2 separate regions of the Homo sapiens genome follow, and region 2 is linked to region 1. Evidence: promoter capture Hi-C in human tissues and cell types (Jung and others, 2019). All regions are on one chromosome and are shown on one strand. The core of a region is centred on a gene start or on the middle of the fragment in contact, and the rest is flanking DNA. Distances in the headings are between cores, read along the strand shown.

Region 1 (7,213 bases), core at 1,401-3,900:
TTCATTACTAAAAATGTGAAAAAGATTTTAGTTATGTTCAAGATCCCTTCGGTGTGGCTTATTGTGAAAGTGCACATGTTTATCTCTTTTTTTTTTTTTTTTTTTTTGAGTCGGAGTCTTGCCCAGGCTGGAGTGCAGTGGCTCGATCTCGGCCCACTGCAACCTCCGCCTTCCGGGTTCAAGTGATTCTCCTGCCTCAGCCTCCTGAGTAGCTGGGACTACAGGCGCGTGCCACCATGCCCAGCTAATTTTTGTATTTTTAGTAGAGACGGGGTTTCACCATGTTGGCCAGGATGGTTTCGATCTCTTCACCTCGTGACCCGCCCGCCGCAGCCTCCCAAAGTGCTGGGATTACAGGCGTGAGCCACAGCGCCCGGCCATGTTTATCTCTGTTTATGTACTTTTTCATTTGTTTTTCACAGTCTTGCTCTTTTTAAAACAACAACAACAACAAAAAACTTCTAGAAATGAGGTCTCACTATGTTGCCCAGGCTGGTGTTGAACACCTGGGCTTAAGCAATCCTTCCACCTTAGCCCTCCACCATTACTTCTAAAAAATAAAACCAGGGTTATGAAATTGTTCTGGTGGGAAAAGCTTGAAGTCTCTAGTCTTCTTGCTTTCATGGTGCTGGGTGCCCAGGATGACTATTTGCATAGGATTTGCCAGATGAGCATGTGGAAAGGCCTGTCTTCACAGGTGTGCCCCTAACTTTGCACCTTCCTATCAAGGGATGCATTGTTGAACGGCTGCAGAGAGAGCTGTACCCAGCCTTCACATTTAAAAGAATATGGAAAACTCATTACTTATGACATTGCCTGAGTTCAAATCCTGGCTTTTCCACATACTAGTGTGTGCTCTTAGCCAAGTTATTTCTTCCATTGTTTATTAAAATATAACTGCTGTTTTTAAATGAAGTCATATATACACATGGTCAAAAACTCTGACAACAGGATCTGGCGAATCTTTCTCAGAAATTTTCTAGGAATGTGTCACATATTTCCTTTTTTTTTTTTTTTTTACATAAATGTACCATACATAATGTTCTTTTTATCTTTCTTAACACCTCTTAGAATATTATCATTTTCTTACGGGCTTCCTAGTATTTTTGTTTGAATGGATGTATCTTATTTACTGAAACAGTCCTGTTAACAAACACATAGGTTGCTTTCTGGTTGGAGTTATTACAGAACAATCTTTGATGAACATCTTTGAACACTTGTACAAGTGTTTGACAGGATAAATTCCCAGGAGGGCTGCTGGGTCCAAGGCTACGGTCATTTTCGATTTGAATAAGTATTACCAAATGGGCAAGTTATTTAAGTGATCCCTGAGTCGCTCTTCTTTGTAAACAGTGGACAATAATGAGTTTCTCAAATGTTTCTTATAAGGATTAAATGAGATGGGGATGTGGAAGCCTAGTATACAGCAAGCAGGCCGTCAATGAATGTTGGCCTCCCAATATTTTTTTTTACGGAGAAAGACAACTATTTATGCATATTATGATGACTATAGCTTAACCATGAGCTCAACAAACACAAAAATTCACAGAAAATTCTGCAATACCGTATCTATTTTAAACCCCATTATTGAATATAACTAGTGAAATCTCAGGTCAAATAGAATGTATTTAAGAAGACACAAACTTGACATTAAACACCAGAGATTTACATTTGATAGTTGTCTCTTCTTACAAATATATCCCTCATAATAATAAAAAAGCACTCCACTAGTATGCCAATTAAGACACATCTTCCAGTCGTGTTTTGTCCTTGAGTGAAAAATCTTGCTGCTCAATTCAAGTCATTCGTTTATTCATAACACCCATATATATATCTCCAACTCTGGAAAGAAACACTGACAGAAAGATGGAAAATTTTAGAGACCTCGTTTCCACTTCAGAGAGCCTGTTGTCCCCCAAACCTCTCGGGCCCTCCGGTATTTTTAAGCTTATCAAGATTCCAGAATGAGGTTAACGGGGCGTCACAGAACGAAACCCCCCACCGTCCCGTCCCAGGGGCTTCAAGCCAGGACCCCGGCCTGAGGGAGCCTCCGGGCAGGAGGAAGAGGCCCAGGAAGCCATCGCTCCGCTCCTTCCCAGCTGTTTATGTGGTACTCAGGGTACTCGGCCAAGGGCACGGCGACCCCGCAACACCCCAGGCGTGGGGCAAAGACAGCGGGGTTGCGGGGCTCCTGTCTGCCCGGGGCGTCGAGAGTTCCTGCCGCCCCCTCCCGCCTCATGCACGGAAAGCGCCGAGCCACGGCGTGCGGCGCCGGCCGAGCGTGAACCGGAGTCGGGGTTCGGCTACCCCGAGCGGCTCTGTGGGCCGCGGATCGCTTCCCCTGGGGCGGCCACGCAGGGTTGCGGGCCATGGCCTGGGGCGCCCGTCCGGACCCCGCCGCTGCGCGGGACGCCGCTCCCAGCCTCGACCAAGGGCGCCCGGGGGCGGCGGCGGCGGCGGCGGCGGTGACTGCCCGGGGCGGCGGCGCGGCGCGGGGGCGGCCAGGAGGCGAGGAGGCCGGGCCGCGGCCGAGGGCCCAGGGCGCGCTTCCGGCGGGCGTCGCGCGCGCCGCGGTAAATGGGAGGCTCGGCCGACAGGGGCGGGGGCCGCGCAGCCGGGGACTTTCAGGAACTGCAGGAGCGTGCGGCGCGGGAGTAGCCGAGCGCCCAGCGGCTGGGCCTGAGCGTCGAGACTCGGGGCCGAGGCGGAGGAGCGGCCGCCGCGCCGGGGCCCAGCCGGAGCCGCCGCCCTCGCCCTTGCCTTTGCCTGCGCGGCTCAGAATCACCATCCGCGGCGCGGGAGACGAGCCGGCCGTCCCGGGCCGGGGGACCCGCCCGCCATGGCCACCAAGGTGAGGGGCGCGCGGCGCAGGCCGGGCCGGTCGCTCAGGCCCGGGGCGGCGCGGAGAGGGTCGGGGCCGGGGCCGCGGGGAGGGTCGGGGCCAGGGGTGGTCGAGGGGCCACTCCGCTTCCTCGGTGGAGTCCCCGGGCGGGTCCGCGGCCCAGCCAGTCCCTTCTGGGCATGGGTGCGGCGGGCAGTGCAGACAGACCACCAGGATCGCACCGGGGGACGGCGTCGGGTCTGGGCGCGGGTTGGGACCCCGGGCGCAGCGAGGTTTGGGAAGTTTGCACCTGAGCGTGGGCTGCGGCGGGCTCGCCGGGAGGGGCCGCGGGACGGAAACTTCCCGCAGCCCGGGGAGGCCCCCGAGGCGACTGGCGCTCTGTGGCGTCCGGCGTCCCCGCCGCCCCCACGTCCCCTCCCGCTGCCGCCTGGGGGACCCTCGCCCCCGCGGGGCGGGTGGGGGTCGAGACCTCGGCGGAGAGGACGCGGCGCTTCCCGTCCCGGCCTGCGGGGGCTCGCGGCCGGGGAGGGACCGAGGCTGGGACGCCCCGCGCCCCTTTGCCTTCGCTGCTGTTATTTTTTTCTTTTGTTTTGCTACCTTTTCATTGTGAATGGCATTGCCGGCATGAATAAAATATCAAGAGGGAAATGACTGTGCTTTCGATTACGTGTTTGCCTGAAAAAAGGCCCAGGCCCGAATTACGTGGTGGAACTTTGACTCCTGCTTCGTCATTGGCTAGGAGCGGTGGTTTGCTTGTTTTACGTTATTGTTTATGAAATTAGCAGTCACTCTTGGCTACCTGAATTTTCAAAAGCCACCCTCCCCCGCTCCTTTTCCTTGGGCGTTTTCAGTAGTTACTTGATGTAGAATAGCCACTGGGGAAGTCACGGTCACGGAAGGGAGGACCTGGGGGAGGAGGCTCTATACCTGAGCCATTAACTGATCTGTGATACACTGTGAGGAGTGGGTTTACTTTTGCACTTAGTTTTTGTAATGTCACTTTGTTAGCATCAGCACCCCTTTGTCTATTTGTTTTTGAGATCTCTGAGCTACTTTTGGGTTGCTAGAAACGTTATTTTTTATTTTTCGATAGGTGTTTGCTTTTTTTGTGGAGTGTTAAGGTAGAAAATGGTAAGAAATGTGAAATCTCTTTGAAAGATCAGCATTGCTTGACTTCGGTCTGCTAGATGTTGTGCTGTGGTAAATTTTGTGCTCTGAATCCATCTAGGTGCAGCGTTTGTAGAGAAATGGGGATTCTCCTCCAGGGAACCTGTTGCTGCTGTTACTGAAATAATTACCTTCTTGTTAATATATTATTGCCTGTGCTGTGCTTTGGTTTTATTAATGCGATAGAACTTGCCACCTTTTTAACGTATTAATTTTGTGTTGACCTTTTTAAAAATAAAACTTAGGCCAAGGATTTCTAAGGAAATTTGATTTTGAGGTTTGTTGCCAGACATTCCAGAAATTACCAGTTACACATCCTAGTACATGCTCATCTTGCAACCTTAAAAGCGGTTTATAGGCCGGGCGCGGTGGCTCACTCCCACCTGTAATTCCAGCACTTTGGGAGGCCGCGGTGGGTGGTTCACCTGAGGTCGGGAGCTCGAGACAAGCCTGGCCAATATGGTGAAACCCTGTCTCTACTAAAAATACAGAAATTAGCTGGGCGTGGTGGCGCGCGCCTGTAGCCCCAGCTGCTCTGGAGGCTGAGGCAGGAGAATCGCTTGAACCCGGGAGGCGGAGGTTGCAGTGATCCGAGATCGCGCCACTGCACTCCAGCCTGGGCGACAGAGCGAGACTCCGTTTGAAAAAAGAAAAGACGAGACTCCGTTTGAAAAAAGAGAAGACGGTTTATGACATAGAGATCTGTCTAGTGGTGGTCAGTGTGTTTTTACACTCTGGTCTACTGAGGCATGTTATCTGTACTGTCCTTTAAGTGGAATGCAGTTTAGCAACTAGTGCAGGTATATATAGTGAAATTTTTATTTCATAGTTAATCCTGAACTTAATTTTTTTCCAAAAAATCGAAAAGTGGTTCTTGTATATTAATCTCGAATTGCATGTGTCTTTGATTAAACACGAGCCTTAAAGCATGCGTAAGGACTTCCTACTTCGTTATCTACACCACTCCAAAGGCAAATTCCAGTAGTTCTGTTAGTTTCTTTCGGCTGCCTAATCACTGTTCCACATGGTGCTCATTTCCATGTTTACATTGTGACAAACCATTTCCATTTTAAGAAAAAGAAGAGCAACGAAGCAGTTATTAAAAGAAGACCCTTCCTTTGTTTTCTGACATGCTGGTGATTCTTGTGTCAAACCAAAGTCTCATTTTTTAATTGTTCCCAGAGAGTCAAGTTGGTGCTTTCCTCCCTTCCCCCATATGCACACTCCTTCCCCACACCTGAGTAGTTGTGTTTTTTCTTTGTCTTCTTCAAGGGGTGGGGAGAATGTGCTTAGTAGTAATGACTAACTTTTAATAAAAATGTAGGCTCCAGTGGCACTCAGGCTGTTGCTATAAGTATTAACTGATGAAAAGTAAATTCAGTATCTGGATATTTTAAGGGATGTCGATTTCCCTTTGAATTTATCAGAGACTTGGCTATAGTATCTTCAGATACAATTTTCTTGTTTGTTCTTACGTATTAAGGATGTGGTTATCACTGAACTATTGGGATTTTTAAAAACTCCACTACTATATTTTACAATAAAAAAGGAAATTATCTTTTAGAAGAAGAACTTTAGTTTGACAGTCCTTCACTGCTAAAGAAAGTTAATCAGGGTCGGGCGCCGTCTCACGCCTGTAATCCTAGCACTTTGGGAGGCCGAGGCGGGCGGATCACGAGGTCGGGAGATCGAGACCATCCTGGCTAACACGGTGAAACTCCATCTATACTAAAAATACAAAAAAAATTAGCTGGGCGTGGTGGCGGGCGCCTGTAGTCCCAGCTACTCGGGAGGCTGAGGCAGGAGAATAGCGTGAACCCGGGAGGCAGAACTTGCAGTGAGCCGATTTTGCGCCACTGCACTCCAGCCTGGGTGACAGAGTGAGACTCCATCTCAAGAAAAAAAAAAAAAAAAGGAAAGTTAATCAGTAACTGCACATTTTAAGGGGATTATCTATTTTCTATTTCTACTCCTTACTCAGTAGAGTGCTGCATTCAGTTTAAGTGTATACACTCACTCAGTGCAATCAAGTCTTGTTTTACAAATATTAATACAAAAGCTGCAGAGCATTTTAGTCTTGACCTTTATTGGAAGCCTCCAAAGGTTATATTTCGACCCAGCCAAAATATAACCTATTTATATTATAGGTTTTATATATATATGATATATAAATATATTATATTATATATATATATTATATTTTATATATAAATATATATTATATTTTATATATATATTATATTTTATATATAAATATATATTATAGTTTATATAATATATAAATATATATTATAGTTTATATAATATATAAAATATATTATAGTTTATATAATATATAAAATATATTATAGTTTATATAATATATACATATATATTATAGTTTATATAATATATACATATATATTATAGTTTATATAATATATACATATATATTATAGTTTATATAATATATAAACATATATTATAGTTTATATAATATATAAACATATATTATAGTTTATATAATATATACATATATATTATAGTTTATATAATATATACATATATATTATAGTTTATATAATATATAAACATATATTATAGTTTATATAATATATAAACATATATTATAGTTTATATAATATATAAACATATATTATAGTTTATATAATATATAAACATATATTATAGTTTATATAATATATAAACATATATTATAGTTTATATAATATATAAACATATATTATAGTTTATATAATATATAAACATATATTATAGTTTATATAATATATAAACATATATTATAGTTTATATAATATATAAACATATATTATAGTTTATATAATATATAAACATATATTATAGTTTATATAATATATAAACTTATAGTTTATATAATATATAAACTTATAGTTTATATAATATATAAACATATAGTTTATATAATATATAAACATATATTATATTATAGTTTATATAATATATAAATATATATTATATTATAGTTTATATATATATGAGATATATAAATATATAATACATTGTCAGTCATCCTGTTTTATTTAAAAGATCAAGTTCTGGAAAAGAAATGAAGAATTTTTTTTCAGTGTCTGTCAAAGGGGACATGAAGAAAATTGTTAGTGGAGGTTAATCCATATCTATATAATTTAGCTGTAATTTCTACGTCAAAGTTAACCTTCAGTCACTAATTTGGATCCTTTTGTG
Region 2 (7,213 bases), core at 1,226-3,725, 500 kb before region 1:
GAAGTGTTTTCTTCACCGGGTGTCCAAGTCACCAGGCCAAGGAGATTTCCCTCTTCAGTAGGGTACTTTCCCCTCATTCCCCAACCTCTTAACATTAGGAGTCCCCAAGAGTTCCTTCCTCAGACCTCTTCTCTTTTCTTTCAACCTTCACTGCCTTGGTGAGTTAATCTAGTCTCACAGCTTTAAATGCTAGCCATATACTGATGAGTCTCAAATTCAAATCTTCACCTTGTACTTCTCCCCTAACTCTCAACTTCTATATCTAACTGCTTACTTGCTCTCCATCTCACTATCAAACGGATGTGTCAACCTCACAAGTCAGATTGAGCTCCTGACATTATCTCCCAATACCTCCTTTTCTCACACTGCTCCCCACCCATCCTTCAGTTGCTCAGGCCAAAAGTCTTGATGACATCCAACTTCACTCTTTCTCACACCCCACATCCAATCAACAACAAATCTTTGCTGACTTGACCTTCAAAATATATCGACATCTGTTTTCATCAACTTTACCGCTGCCACCTATCTCAAACTACTGCCAATTCTCACCAGTCACGAAGGGTCCGGTCCACAGAACTTCCAACCAGTTGTTTAAAAAAAGAAGGCAGTCATTCTTAATGTAATGCTCTGTAGCTTGAAGTATAAATTTTACATATATACACAAACACAGACACAGACACACAAGATTTTAGGATTTTTTCCAAAAATGTGTAAATAACACATTAGTAATTTAAATAATTAATTTTAAAATGCTTTAACTTTTACAAAGATTATATATATATGTCAAACAGCAATAGAAAGTTGTTCCAAATTAATAATTTTATTGAACAAATCGCTAATGTCAATTTGTTTATTTATTCTACTTTGTTTTTGAGACAGGGTCTTACCCCGCTGCCAAGGCTGAAGCGCAATGATCTTGGCACACTGCAGCCTCAGCCTGTGAGGCTCAGGTGATCCTCCTCCCTCAGCCTTCTGAGTAGCTAGGACTATAGGCGCATGCCACCACACCCAGCTAATTTTTTTATAGAGACAGGGTTTCTTTACATTGCCCAGGCTGGTTTTGGACTTCAGAGCTCAAGTGATTTGCCTGCCGCAGGCTCCCAAGGTGCTGGGATTACAGGCATAACCCACTGCACTCGCCCTAATGTCAATTTATATAGAACATTAGCTATAAATTAGTCATTACTTAATTATATTTGAAGTTTTACCACCTTCAAAAATTGTATTTATTAGTAATAAGAAGTTGTCTAGTTATTTGTAAGAATTTAGTCACGTACTCTGTCATCATCTCCCTAGACAGTGACCAAACTACATGCAAATAAATTTGAAAACCAGAAAAATTTAGAACACAGTAAGCAGAATAAACATGTAGATACCAGGGACAAGACAGTAGTTACTTACACTGTGAACTCCTAAAGCTTTCCAGACTGCGAAGCTAATCACACCAACCCCACACCATGCATACAGGGAGCCCCAGCCCAGAGCTCGCAAGGCAAGGGAAGACCCGCTTTCCGGTAATGCAGCCGTGGCCATACTTCCCTGAAATGAAACAGAAAAGTTGAGGTAAAAACAATCAGTGCAGAAAGAATAAGCATTCTGGGGGTGTTTGCAAATTCCTCTCTGTGCAAACAACATGATATTAGGAAGCTAAATCAACCCAAGGTCTAATTCTGGCTTTGCTACTTAATAATTGCATGCCTTCTCTGACTCACAGATATTTGAGTATGCAAGGCACCTTGCCTGTTAATTCTTCCAGAAAAATCCTAGACCATTTTGTCAAGATTTCTCTATCCCCCATTCATTGGCATTTTCACAGAATGACATTAAAGTGGTATTAAAATAACTCAGTTATTTTATGAATGTTTTTCCTGCCATAATATTAAGATGAGCAAGGGCACCAGATATTTCAGATAAGTAAACTTTGCATGTGTGTAAACATTATGTACTTTCTTCAGTTATTTTAACCAAATAGACATATAATACATGTTATTTTCTCTCATAGCACCTCATTTAGTCTACCGATTATGAGACTGATGTATAAATGCAGGATAGACTAGTTAACAAAAATGTTGATCTATTTTAATAGATCGACCAAAGAAGCTCAAGAGTAAATTACTTCGCCACTTTTAGCTTGCACCTTCCTCTTTCTGTTTATTCAGGGAACTACAAAGAAAAATGAATGTCCATTCAGCATCTATTATTGCTTTTCAACTCCCAGTTGTTTTGCATGACACACAGCTAAGAAAATGAGAACAGGACATTAAAAGGATAACTATCATCCCAAAATAAAAGCAGTGTAGGCAGTCCCCAACTGAAAAGTTTATCATTTTAATGTCCTCTGGGGTTGCAATTTGAATCTGTTTTAATACCTAGAATCCCAGGCTAATGGATAGAAGTCTGTTTAAATAGCAAGATTACTAAAAATTGTATCATTTCTTCCCTAGAAGTATCCCAAGATGGGAAGAGTACCATGTTGGGCAAGTTGCTTAATTCATCTGTGCCTCAGTTTCCTGCCCTTTAATGGGGACCACACATAACGGTGCTGCATAGGGTGTGAGGAGAGTTCAATGAGTCAAGCCCGCAGAAGAACAGCCAGCACATGCTAAGCACTCAAATATTAGATATTATCAATGTTAGAAAAGACCTCCAGGTGGCAACTGTGAAGTGCACTGACTAAGTGAGATTCTTAGACTGGTGCTTGCTCAGTATAAACGCATTAACTGTGTGCTCCAAAATCTCTGAGTTCTTCTACAAACAATTTTACCTCTGAAACAGAGTCTGGGTAAGTGGTCATACTCTAATTCCAGTGTTTTCCCAGAGGGAGACAGAACCATCTAAAACAGGGGTTCTCAAACTACCTGGTCTCAGGATCCCTTTACACTTGGGCCCTAAAGACTTTCAATTAAGTGGGTTGTATTTATCAATATTTAATGTATTAGAAATTAAAACTATGAAATTCTTAAATTATATTAGTCATTTAAAAATAGTAAATCATTTTAGATTAATATAAGCCTATTTTTTATGAAAAATTACTTTTCCAAAACAAAACTGTGCAAAGAGAGACAATGTTTTACATTTTTGTTAGTCTTTTATTTATTTATATTTTTTGAGATGGAGTCTCGCTCTGTCACCCAGGCTGGAGTGTAGTGGCGTGATCTCAGCTCACTGCAACCTCCACCTTCCAGGTTCAAGCAATTCTTGTGCCTCAGCCTCCCAAGTAGCTGGGATTACAGGTGCATGCCACCATGCCCAGCTAATTTTTGTATTTTTAGTAGAGATGGGGTTTCACCGTGTTGCCCAGGCTGGTCTCAAACTCCTGGCCTAAAGTGATCCGCCTCCCTCAGCCTCCCAAAGTGCTGGGATAAAAGTTTTCTAAAATCTAATTTTCACTTGAAAGCTTGAATTTTATCAGTGGCAATAAATACTGACAATTGTTTGCTTGAAAAGACAAGCTCATTTTATTCATTGTTAAGATGTCTGCCAAATATTCTTTCAAGTAAAAATGATATTCTATAGGAAAAAAGTGGCTAGTTCAGCTTGCAATTCAATTGCTTTTCTAGAGAAAAAATCCTACTTCAGTATAAAATAGAAATGCTTTATGTATTTATTTCCCATTTCTTTTTTTTTTTTTCTTTTTTTTTTTTTTGAGACGGAGTCTCGCTCTGTCACCCAGGCTGGAGTGCAGTGGCGAAATCTCGGCTTACTGCAAGCTCCGCCTCCCGGGTTCACGCCATTCTCCTGCCTCAGCCTCCCGAGTAGCTGGGACTACAGGCACCCGCCACCCGCCCAGTTAATTCTTTTGTATTTTTAGTAGAGACGGGGTTTCATCGTGTTAGCAAGGATGGTCTCAGTCTCCTGACCTCATGATCCGCCCGCCTTGGCCTCCCTAAGTGCTGGGATTACAAGCGTGAGCCACCTCGCCCGGCCTTGTATTTCCCATTTCTTTACACAGAATATTAAAATGAGGTTTATTTGAAGGTCATGATTTAATAAAATTAACTATTTTATTTCTTCAACAAGGACACTGTTAAGTAATACTGGCTTTAAAAAATACAGGTACTTTGTAATGAAGGACACAAGGACTTTCACAGTTTGGTGCTACTGCCTTAGACCAAGGTATCAGCAGTTTTACTCTCCATTGCCTCTGTACCATTAGTACAAGCATCTTAGTATCATTATGAAAATAGTTCTGACTTCATGGACCCAAGGATCAAGGATCAGCAGGGTTCTGTGGACTGCAGTTTGAAAACCACTGTTAGACCCCGAAGAGCATCTGTGATGATCAAATCTCAGAATAACAAAATAGGATGGAAAGTTGTGATATGTGTACGTGCGCTCTTCAGCCCCAGAGAATCCCTAGTTTTCATCAGATTATTAAAAAGATCAGTGAGCCAAGGATTAACATAACTTAGGCTTAGAAATCAACCAAAACTCTACTGTTAAGGCACTACTCTGATTTCCACCACAAAATATATTTCTGCTCTGAAAACATTCTATAACATAGAGAGAAAATGACCCACAAGGTCCATAGCAGTGATTTAGGAAGCTCCATATAAGCTTAGAGCATTCAGAGGGGATCCAAGCACACTTTAAACATGGTCTCTTGCCATTATGGTATCGATAAGGCTTAAGTATGATTATTAAAGATAAATGTAAGTGGAAAGGAAACTTGACTTTTTATGATGTTTTACGTAACACTTTTCCTCCATAGCACACATCAAATTGTAATTACACAGTTATTTGTGTGAATATTTATTTATTTATTTTTGAGACAGAGTCTCGCTCTGTCACCCAGGTTGAAGTGCAGTGGTGTTATCTGGGCTCACTACAACCTCAGCCTCCTGGGTTCAAGTGATTCTCCTGCCTCAGCCTCCCGAGTAGCTAGGACTACAGGAGTGCCACACCACACCTGGCTCATTTTTGTATTTTTAGTAGAGATGGGTTTTCGCCATGTTGGCCAGGCTGGTCTCAAACTCCTGACCTCAGGTGATCTGCCCCTCTCGGCTTCCCAAAGTGCTGGGATTACAGGCATGAACCACGATGCCTGGCCCAAATTTAGATTCAAAGTCATGTTGTGAATAGGAAATGTACCAGATAAGCTTTCAAAGTCTTGTTCCGCTAAAATTTAAGAAAGCACATAAGTACATCCTTCTAAATGAAAATAAAGACTTGGTTAATTTGTACATTTCTAGAATCCATGAGCGTATATAAATTCACATCTTAAAGCAATGTGAAAGACCATCAATATTTTATTTTTTCTACGCAAAAGCTGCCATATATTGTAAACAATAACAATGCTATGAATGGATTTCAGTGTCACCAACCTTATTGAACCATTCAGGGCTTTTCTTTTTAGCCAATGATAATGTTGTAATAAATCCAGCTAGCATTCCCGCTGCAGCAACGGTACCAAGGAAAATTCCACCTGCCAAGAGTTTCGGGGAGGAGGGGGGATATTAAAAAAAATTAAATAAAAAGAGGTTAAAAAGATGTACAAAAGTAAGTTTAAGATACTATTCGAGTTACAATCAAAATCACTTTTGAAATTCAAGAAACCATGGCTAAGCAGCTCTTGCTAACAGTAAATGACAGCGGCTGAGAAACACGCGTGACCGCACGACCTCTGGTTCCTTGGGTCATTCCGAATTATTATTCCCGAGCGCAGAGAAAAGGTTCAGCTTCCCTTCCCCTCTCCCCTGGGACCACAGCGTGAAGTTTCTCACGGGGAGGAGAAGAGACGATGGCAATCAGAAAAGGCAAGGCTCTAGAACAATTGCAGAGGTGACGGGGAAATATGGCACGCCCGGGAGAATAGCTCGCGGGATCTGCCCCCCGCCCCGCCCAAGGGGAGACTCCACCCAGTAAGCGACCTACCCTCCCTGGGCCGCCAGACTCCGCGGGCTAAACTCAGGGGCAAGCACAAGCTAAGGGCTCTCAGAGCGGGATGTGTGTGGGAATGCCCGCTCCAGAGCAAGCCAGGGTCCGGGGTTAACTCACCCCGACGCCCGCACCTCACCACAGCACATCTTACCTTTAACCAGGAAAAGCCGGTCATTCGTGGACCCCGGAGCCTCCAGCCCAGAGGCCGGCTGCCCAGTTGCAGCGCCCGCTGTCTCCATGTTTAGGTCGCCTCTAGTGCGTCCGTCCCCAACTGGGCCCGGGTGGAAGCGAGAACCAGGCGGAGGAGAAAGGTTCCGCTACCGCCTCCTCCTGTGCAATCTGAAGAAGGGTCCGGAGTGCGGCCGCTGTCCCCAAACCCTCCTCCCGCGCCGGGGCCGGGAAGACGTGCTGTGCCCAGCCCCAGGGGCGATGCCCTCCAAGGCCGTCTCTTAGGGAGGATCTTTTGATTTCTCCAAGGAGATCATTGCTGGACTTAAGTGATTACTTTGGCTGTTTGAAAGAACGCTCAGCCCCGACTGTAGGAGGCAGTGAGGGTCGCAGATTGCGCCAAGATTCCAGGCCCCGCCTGTGAGACCCTGGAGCTCATTTTCCTGATCAAGCTTACATTGTGTCCAACGATTTGGCCAGCGCTAACACTCCACGATTCTAAAACGCAAGCCTAGGTCTTCTGTCTGTACTTTTCTAGGTAACTTCCCAACAGTGTTGAGGAATAAGTGACAGGCTTTCTCCCTGGAGGAGAGCCAGCCACCCGGTTCTGCGGTGACGGGTACCTCCGCCGCGGTGTGAGTGCTCGGCCTCCGTCGGGAAGTGGAACACTCACAGGATGACCGAATGAAAGTACCACCCCCGAAAGGAGAGCGACGCCCGCTGGAAGCGCTTGCAGAGCTGCCGGCAACGTTGACCGCTAGCAAGCTTGGTCTTCCGCTGGGAGGCTGGTTTGCCCATTCTGTAAATGGCCGTGGAGAGGAGGAGGCTAGTGGTGATAGAAAATCTTTTCAGCCTCTCAGAGAACAATGACATCTTGTAAAATAAGGCGGTCTCTCTGCTATTTGTCCTGCCCCCCATCACCGGAGGGCATGAGTTTCCTGAGGATGGAGATGGGACTCTATGTTCAGTTTATATCCCCCAGCTTTCAGATATTAACTGGTTACCAACATCAAATGCATGTTGGATGAATGAGTAAATGAATGCATCCATTTTTGCGTCAGTGAAGTGCAGTTAATAGCTCAAACCTGGGCTCGGGTCCTAAACCGCTTCTCAGGTGTGTGAACTTGGGGTAACTTAGCCCCTCTATAGCTCAGTTTCCTCACCT

The links. Contacts are between HindIII fragments. The study calls those that stand out against the background at their distance.
Region 2: a fragment that was not itself captured here is called in contact with the fragment with the promoter of SNX9 in region 1 in 1 of the 25 tissues and cell types used here (hippocampus).

What each region holds. Positions count from the first base shown.
Region 1 is chr6:157,820,596-157,827,808 of GRCh38, forward strand. SNX9 (sorting nexin 9) reads left to right here and starts at 2,651. Exons shown (of 18, transcript NM_016224.5): 1 at 2,651-2,851. The coding sequence starts at 2,840. RefSeq lists a silencer at 2,460-2,779 and an enhancer at 3,430-3,479. The HindIII fragment of the contact is 8,295 bases long and covers 1,272-7,213 here.
Region 2 is chr6:157,317,381-157,324,593 of GRCh38, forward strand. TMEM242 (transmembrane protein 242) reads right to left here and starts at 6,139. Exons shown (of 4, transcript NM_018452.6): 1 at 6,032-6,139; 2 at 5,325-5,425; 3 at 1,402-1,539. The coding sequence starts at 6,119. It overlaps TMEM242-DT (TMEM242 divergent transcript), which reads left to right and starts at 6,254. Exons shown (of 1, transcript NR_187268.1): 1 at 6,254-7,097. RefSeq lists enhancers at 5,902-6,241, 6,422-6,851. The HindIII fragment of the contact is 4,705 bases long and covers 124-4,828 here.